Linked DNA regions of Homo sapiens: region 1 is linked to region 2. Evidence: promoter capture Hi-C in 16 types of primary human blood cells and fetal thymus (Javierre and others, 2016). All regions are on one chromosome and are shown on one strand. Each heading gives the region's core, a stretch centred on a gene start or on the middle of the fragment in contact. The rest is flanking DNA. Distances are from core to core; before and after follow the strand shown.

Region 1 (3,370 bases), core at 315-2,814, 220 kb after region 2:
TCACTGCAGCCTCAACCTCCCAGGCTCAAGTGATCCTCCCACCTTAGCTTCCCAAGTAGCTGGGACCACAGGCACATGCTACCACACTCAGCTAACTTAAAAATTTTTTTTTTTTTTTTTTGAGACAGAGTCTTGCTCTGCTGCCAGGCTGGAGTGCAGTGGCGCTATCTTGGCTCACTGCAACCTCTGACACCCTGGTTCAAGCAATTCTCCTGCCTCAGCCTCCTGAGTAGCTGGGATTACAAGCATGTACCACCACACCCAGCTAATTTTTGTATTTTTAGTAGAGATGGGGTTTCACCATGTTGGCCAGGATGGTCTCGATCTCCTGACCTTGTGATCCACGCACCTCAGCCTCCCGAAGTGCTGGGATTACAGGTATGAGCCACCACACCTGGCCAAAAAAATTTTTTTATGGAGAGGAGGGTCTCACTATATTTGCTCAGGCTGGTCTTCAAATCCTGGGCTTAAGTGATCCTCCCACCTCAGCCTCCCGAAGTGCTGGGATTCCAGGTATGAGTCACTGCAGCCGGCCTCATGTCTCTTCTTATAAGGGAACTAATCCCATCATGAGGGCTCATCCTTCACAACCTAATTACCTCCCAAAGGCCCCACCTCTTAATAGTATCACACTGGGAAATAAAGCTTCAATTTATCGACTTTGTGGAGATACAAACATTCAGTCCACAGCACCCATGATGTGAGAAATCAAGTCAAATTAAAATTATAATGGGTAATAATGGCATTGCGATGTACTCCTCCCAGATAGCTCATGACATTTTAGGAGGAAGTTCGAATGAGCTAACTCACAGAAAAGAGCCTTGGGAAGAACTGCAGGCTGCTGTGAGAAAATCTGGAGCCAGCATGCTCTTTTCAAGGTCTACCACTTAAATGGTTGTCTGGGTTCACTTTATGCTCTCATTTGGGGCCACGATGTACCAAGTTAAGTTGTGAGAAAAGCCTGGATCATTTTGGGGCTTCCAATCTTCCCCTTTGGGCTCATTTCTTCCATTTTACATGCTTGGGTTGGGCATGGGACCAGCATCCTGAAAATGCAGGTGGGCTTCCCCAACTTGTGGGGGAGGCCCGAGAGGAAAGCAAGTTTCTCATTCTCAAAACCCAACTCAAGTCACCATGATACCTTTCATGTTTATGGTTTCCTTACATGAGGAAACTACTCAATCTCTTCCAGATCTTAAGTCTTACTTTCCTTCATGAGGTTATCTCATTTCCCTCTATTTATTTTCAAAATCTCCAAAAATAAAAGTTACTTCTAATATTCTCTTTTCTCACAACACTCTTCCTCCACACATTGCTTTAACTTCCATGGTCTAACCTAAAATAGAAAAGTTAAAGAAGGAAATACTAGTTGTCGGTATCAATTAAACAAACAGCAATTTAAAAAATTACAATAAAGATTTTCTGGTTTTGGTGACTTGCACCCTAAAATATTGGAAGGAATATCAAAGGATTGGAAAGTGGGGCTCAGTCCAACTGCTGGTGTCTGGGATTTAATGCTCAGACAGAGGTGGGTGGGGGAACCTCTTCCCTGCTTTGCAAAGGCAGAAATAATTCTCTGGTAACTCTTCTACAGGGAAGCTCTGTGGATAAGAAACCTCAAGAATGAAACACTTAATTATAACCAAACATGGAGCAAACAAAGAAACAAGAACTGAGTTGGGCTGTTTTATATGAATCCTGCCTACGAAAGGAGATTGCTCCTTCCAAGTTTTGTAAGAGATCAGTGACAAGCTGGAATTTTTCATTTCTGGGCTCAGTGAGAAGTTACATTTACAGAACCAACTTCATTTATGTTTTAAAAGCAAATAAGTTTAGGCTTACCACCCTGGTGAGCTCTGAGGCTGTTGAATATTCTGGGAACTTTCATATTGATAGAATATCATGACTGGGGGAAAATATTACAGTCATTTTCCTAACTCTAATAGTTTCCATCCCTAACCTCAAAAAGGAAGGTGAAAAATGATGAATGGGTGTGATGAGGATGTTGTTCCTGAGCCTTTGTTAGCAGTGCTGTGAGTTGTGCCAACGGCAGGGACCCAGGGAAGGGTTGGTGCTCAGTCTCCTCATTCTTTAACCTTGAACTCCTTTGTGTGACCACTTGTGTATATCAGGACTTGATACAACCTGCAGATGTGGAAAAGGGCATTCTTTTATTTTGTATAAGTCCCCTAGTTCATATGAGAAAGTAATGTTTCCTTGGCACTATGATTATAATTCTGATATTTATCAGGTGTCTAGTAGGAGCCAGGCACTTTACAACTATTATTTATAATCCTTATGACTCCCATTACACAGATGTGGAAACTGAGGCTGAAAGAATTCGAATGACTTGACCAAAACAATAGAGCTAGAATACGGCTGAGCCAGACTTTGGGCAAATTCCTCTCTGACTCCAAAACTTACATTCTTTTCTCATGCTATGTTGTCCAGGAAACTTGCCAGCCTACAGTGAAATAAGCTTTAGGTAAAGTATATTGAAAATACAGAAATGAGGCTGGGTGCAGTGGCTTATGCCTGTAATCCCAGCACTTTGGAAGGCCGAGGTGGGCGGATCACTTCAGGTCAGAAGTTTGAGACCAGCCTGGCCAACATGGTGAAACCTTGTCTCTACTAAAATTACAAAAATCAGCCGGGCATGGTGACAGGTGCCTGTAATTTCAGCTACTCTGGAGGCTGAGGCAGGAGAATCACTTGAACCTAGAAGGCAGACATTGCAGCGAACTGAGATGGTGCCACTGCACTCCAGCCTGAGCGACAGAGTAAGACTCTGTCTCAAAAAAACAAAACAAAACAAAACAAAACAAAAAAAACAGAAATGAGGCCAGGTGCAGTGGCTTATGCCTGTAATCCCAGTACTTTAGGAGGCAGAGGCAGGAAGATCACTTGAGGCCAGGAGTTCAAGACCTGCTTGGGCAACAAAGCAAACCCTTGTCTCTACAAAATAAAAAATAAAAAGAAATGAATGAGAATTTTAGAATTCTATCTGACAAATCTTCCCACAGTGTCTCTGGGTAGTCTACAAACCAGTAAAAATAAATTAAAGTTAATTACAAAGGAAAAATGAAGGTAATGTTAGAGACGCAGTCACTTCCGGGTGGATTCAAATTATCTGCATTTCTAGATCCTGCCATTGTTCACCCCCACTCACGCCCTCCACCCCAAGACACTGTGCAGAGGCCCCTCATGTTGGTTCTGATCTACACGTTGACCTCAGAACCTGACACTGAGGATCTCCAGCCTGGGGTTTCCACCATGCTCCACTCCCTGGGTTTCTAGAATTTTTTGCGCTGGAAAAATCCTGAAACTGTAGCCACACTTTGTCCATTATTCCCATTTACGGCTTTTCTTA
Region 2 (3,258 bases), core at 645-3,144:
TATTTTATTTTTTTTTGAGACAGGGTCTCTATTGCCCAGACTGGAGTGCAGTGATGGAATCTCAGCCCACCACAACCTCTGCCTCCGGGTTCAGCTATTCTCCTGCCTCAGCCTCCCGAGTAGCTGGGATTACAGTCGCGTGCCACTACCGCGCAGCTAATTTTTGTATTTTTAGTAGAGACGGGGTTTCACCATGTTGGTCAGGCTGGTCGTGAACGCTTCTCATGCAAAGCTCCTCACCCAGGTTTGCCTTAAGCAGGAGGTCCCAGTGTTTCAGCCCAGTAAGTACCTGTGATGTCAAAATGCTGTGATACTTACATATGGAAGCAGAAATCCCAGTCGATGTCATTGCTAACAGTTGGGATACGGATGGGGCTGGCTTGCATCTTCTTCCTACCAAGAATCAGGTAAGGTCAGCTTTGAGAGAAAAGGCTGGGTGTCTGTTCTATTTTCCCCCTCTGGTTTGCTATTAACATTAAACTAAAACTGCTCAAATATATAACCCATCCTAAATCCACAGACTACGCATACTTAGATATGGAGACCGCTGGAAAACAGACATTTGCCAAATTAAATGTCTAAGTTAAATTTCTTTCCCCTAATTTCAACTCCACCCTACTTCTCCAAAATCCCTGGCCTTTATGTCTCAAAGCAAGCACATTTACAGTTCCTGGGTCATCAAAACTATGGTCACCTACTTAACTCAGATATTGTTTTTGCAGGTCTGACGGCGTGTTGGATTTAAGCAAAGCAACCAACTCTCAGTGGTAAACGAAGCACAGCCAGTGTATTGGTTAATTCTGCTTTCCCCCCCCCCCCCGGGGTCATTTCACTAATTAATAGCAGATTCTAGTACAGGGGTCACGAGGCGGGTACAGAGGCTCACGCCTGTAATCCCAGCACTGTGGGAAGCCGAGGCGGGTGGATCACCCGAGTTCAGGAGTTCGAGACCAGCCTGGCCAACAGGGTGAAACCCCGTCTCTACTAAAAATACAAAATATAGTCGGCTGTGGTGGTGCACGCCTGTAGTTCCAGCTACTCGGGAGGCTGAGGCAGGAGAATCGCTTGAACCCGGGAGGCGGAGATCGCGCCACTGCACTCCAGCCTGGGCGACAGAGCGAGACTCCGTCTCAAAATAAAATAAAACAATAAAATGAAATTCATGTGTCTGTTTTAGTTGTTGCTGTTAGATGATAGGAGAAACCTCGGAAGCACAAAACGAAAAATGTGATTTCTAAATACAGTATTTGTGAAATTCAACTCTCAAGGAAGGCTATGCCAGTCGCTTAAATCAAACCCAAATCGAACGCAGTTACTTATTGAATGTTAACATCCACCAAGTCGCCTCTCCTTTCACCCTCCAGAATCACTAATTCCCACCGAGCCCTGAGTGGCTTTCTGACCCAGGCTCCAGAGCATCCATTATCCGAAAATCAGAAAGGGAGAGTCACTAATTTCTCTTTTTAACCTCCACTTTAAACACTATGCCCACAGCAAAGAGTTCTGATCTCTCAAACTCCCGGACTCTGTTCCTATGACGTTCCGCACGGCCCTGAGCCCCTCAAGGACGAATCGCTCCTCTTTTCCCGCTGTGGTTCTGCGGCAAGTCTGTAAGCCCTGACGCCGCAGGTCGAGCTCTGAGAGCCTCTCTGCCGCGGAGGCTCTAAGAGAACGCGCGAGTGCGCAAAGGGCACCTGGCTCAAGGCGGAGAAACCACGCCCCGGAACCAGCCTCCCAGCTCCCTGAGCCCGACGGCGCGGCTTCCTCCCGCTGCGTCGGCCTCCTGACCCTGGCGCACCTCGGTCCGGGCGCCAAAGCGGTGCCTCGCGAAAGCTGCACAGCCTGCGACGTCCCCAGTTACCTTCCGCAGCCCAGGTCCGGCCAAGGAGACAATACCGTTGCCATGGGAACGGAACGCTACGGGTTCTGCTGGGAGCGCCTGTAGCCATGGCGACGCGGGGCACTTCCGGTTCGGAGAGTCCCTGTTGTCTGGCGCCTACAGCAGCCCTTGCCTTACCCTCCGCTTTCCCTTCCCCGCAGGTTAGACGCGCCCGGCCTCCGGCTCGCCCCAAAACTGGCCTCTGCATATTGTATCTCACGAGACCTTACCCCTCGGAGGTGAAGGCGTAGGAAGAGAAGATACATTCCGTCCAAGGATGGAAGGGAGCGCCGGGCCCCACGGCCCTACTTATTTAAAGCTGCGACGTGTGCGGGCTGTATTCGGCGACGATCCTGGCCACGGTGCACCCCCACAGCTCCTCGGGAGTTTTGTTTTTATGGACCCCAGAGGAAAGGCTTAGATATGGCTGTTGACTGTGCTGGCACCGTCTGTGTTACCCAGTAAGATTGGAGCTAGGCATGGTTAGGAAAGCTGATTGCAGGAAGAGAGTAGGGTAAGAAATCGACTACTAGATCTGCTAATGGTTAGCTGTTCATTATTTATTTAGCACTTAGCCCTAAATAATGCAGCCATATCTTACCCTTTCGTTGGCATGGAATACAGTGTGTGTAATACACACAAGGTGCAGAGGCAATTGTGGCCATACCCAAAGAAACAGCGCCAGCTCTTGCAACGCTATGTTGAAGGATGTTATTATGAACCCTATCATAGACTAGGCCTATGGCAAGTCAAGTTGGAGTGAATGTGTCCCAGTTGTTTTCAGAAAAGAGCAGACTAGGTAGAGAGACAAGGAGAACATTGAGAATGTGAAAGATGGTGTTTACGTTTGGTGTTTGTTATTTCCAGCTCTAGGCTGGAAGTTTAATTGCCATTGATCCAAGACTGCCAAGAAAGCCTTTTTGGAGTTAGGTTGGAGGAGTTATTTAAATGAGTTTGCTTGAATATCTCTTAAGTAAAACCTGTATGGTCTGTTAACTCAAGATTTAAATCTGTACTTTCGAGCTCCATAGTCACAATTTTGGAAAGATTCCCCCACTTTATTCTTTTTCCTAAGAAAACTCTCAGCATGGAACAATGATGACAGCAATGAACCTGATTTCAGAATGTCAAGGTTCTGGTTTTGACTCTGTAGCCTGGGCCGAGTCACGGCCAGTGGGTCCCAATTTTCTTGCCTATACGGTGAAAGTTTTTGTACCACTTGCTTTCTGAAGCGCCTTCTGGTTCCAGGTTTCTGTAAGGGGTAAACGATTTTTGTGACTCTATGAACAGTATTTAACATGTATGGGAGTAAAAAGGAAGAACCTGTTTCCTGTTCTCCAACATTTATTTCTTTTACCCCTTGTTAAGTTGGTCATCAA

Evidence for each region. The method cuts DNA at HindIII sites, captures the fragments that hold promoters and counts their contacts. A CHiCAGO score of 5 or more calls a contact.
Region 1: a fragment that was not itself captured here is called in contact with the fragment with the promoter of TTC23L in region 2 in 1 of 17 cell types (total B cells); the score reaches 6.7 in total B cells.

Annotation. Positions count from the first base shown.
Region 1 is chr5:34,620,501-34,623,870 of GRCh38, reverse strand. No RefSeq gene overlaps it. Among named protein-coding and RNA genes, the nearest start is that of RAI14-DT, 34 kb to the left of the region's middle. RefSeq lists a silencer at 2,566-2,926 and an enhancer at 3,333-3,370. The HindIII fragment of the contact is 1,834 bases long and covers 648-2,481 here.
Region 2 is chr5:34,837,800-34,841,057 of GRCh38, reverse strand. TTC23L (tetratricopeptide repeat domain 23 like) reads right to left here and starts at 1,894. Exons shown (of 11, transcript NM_144725.4): 1 at 1,799-1,894; 2 at 319-393. The coding sequence starts at 386. It overlaps TTC23L-AS1 (TTC23L antisense RNA 1), which reads left to right and starts at 1,726. Exons shown (of 2, transcript NR_183259.1): 1 at 1,726-1,875; 2 at 2,041-3,258. RefSeq lists an enhancer at 1,495-1,604. The HindIII fragment of the contact is 6,317 bases long and covers 1-3,258 here.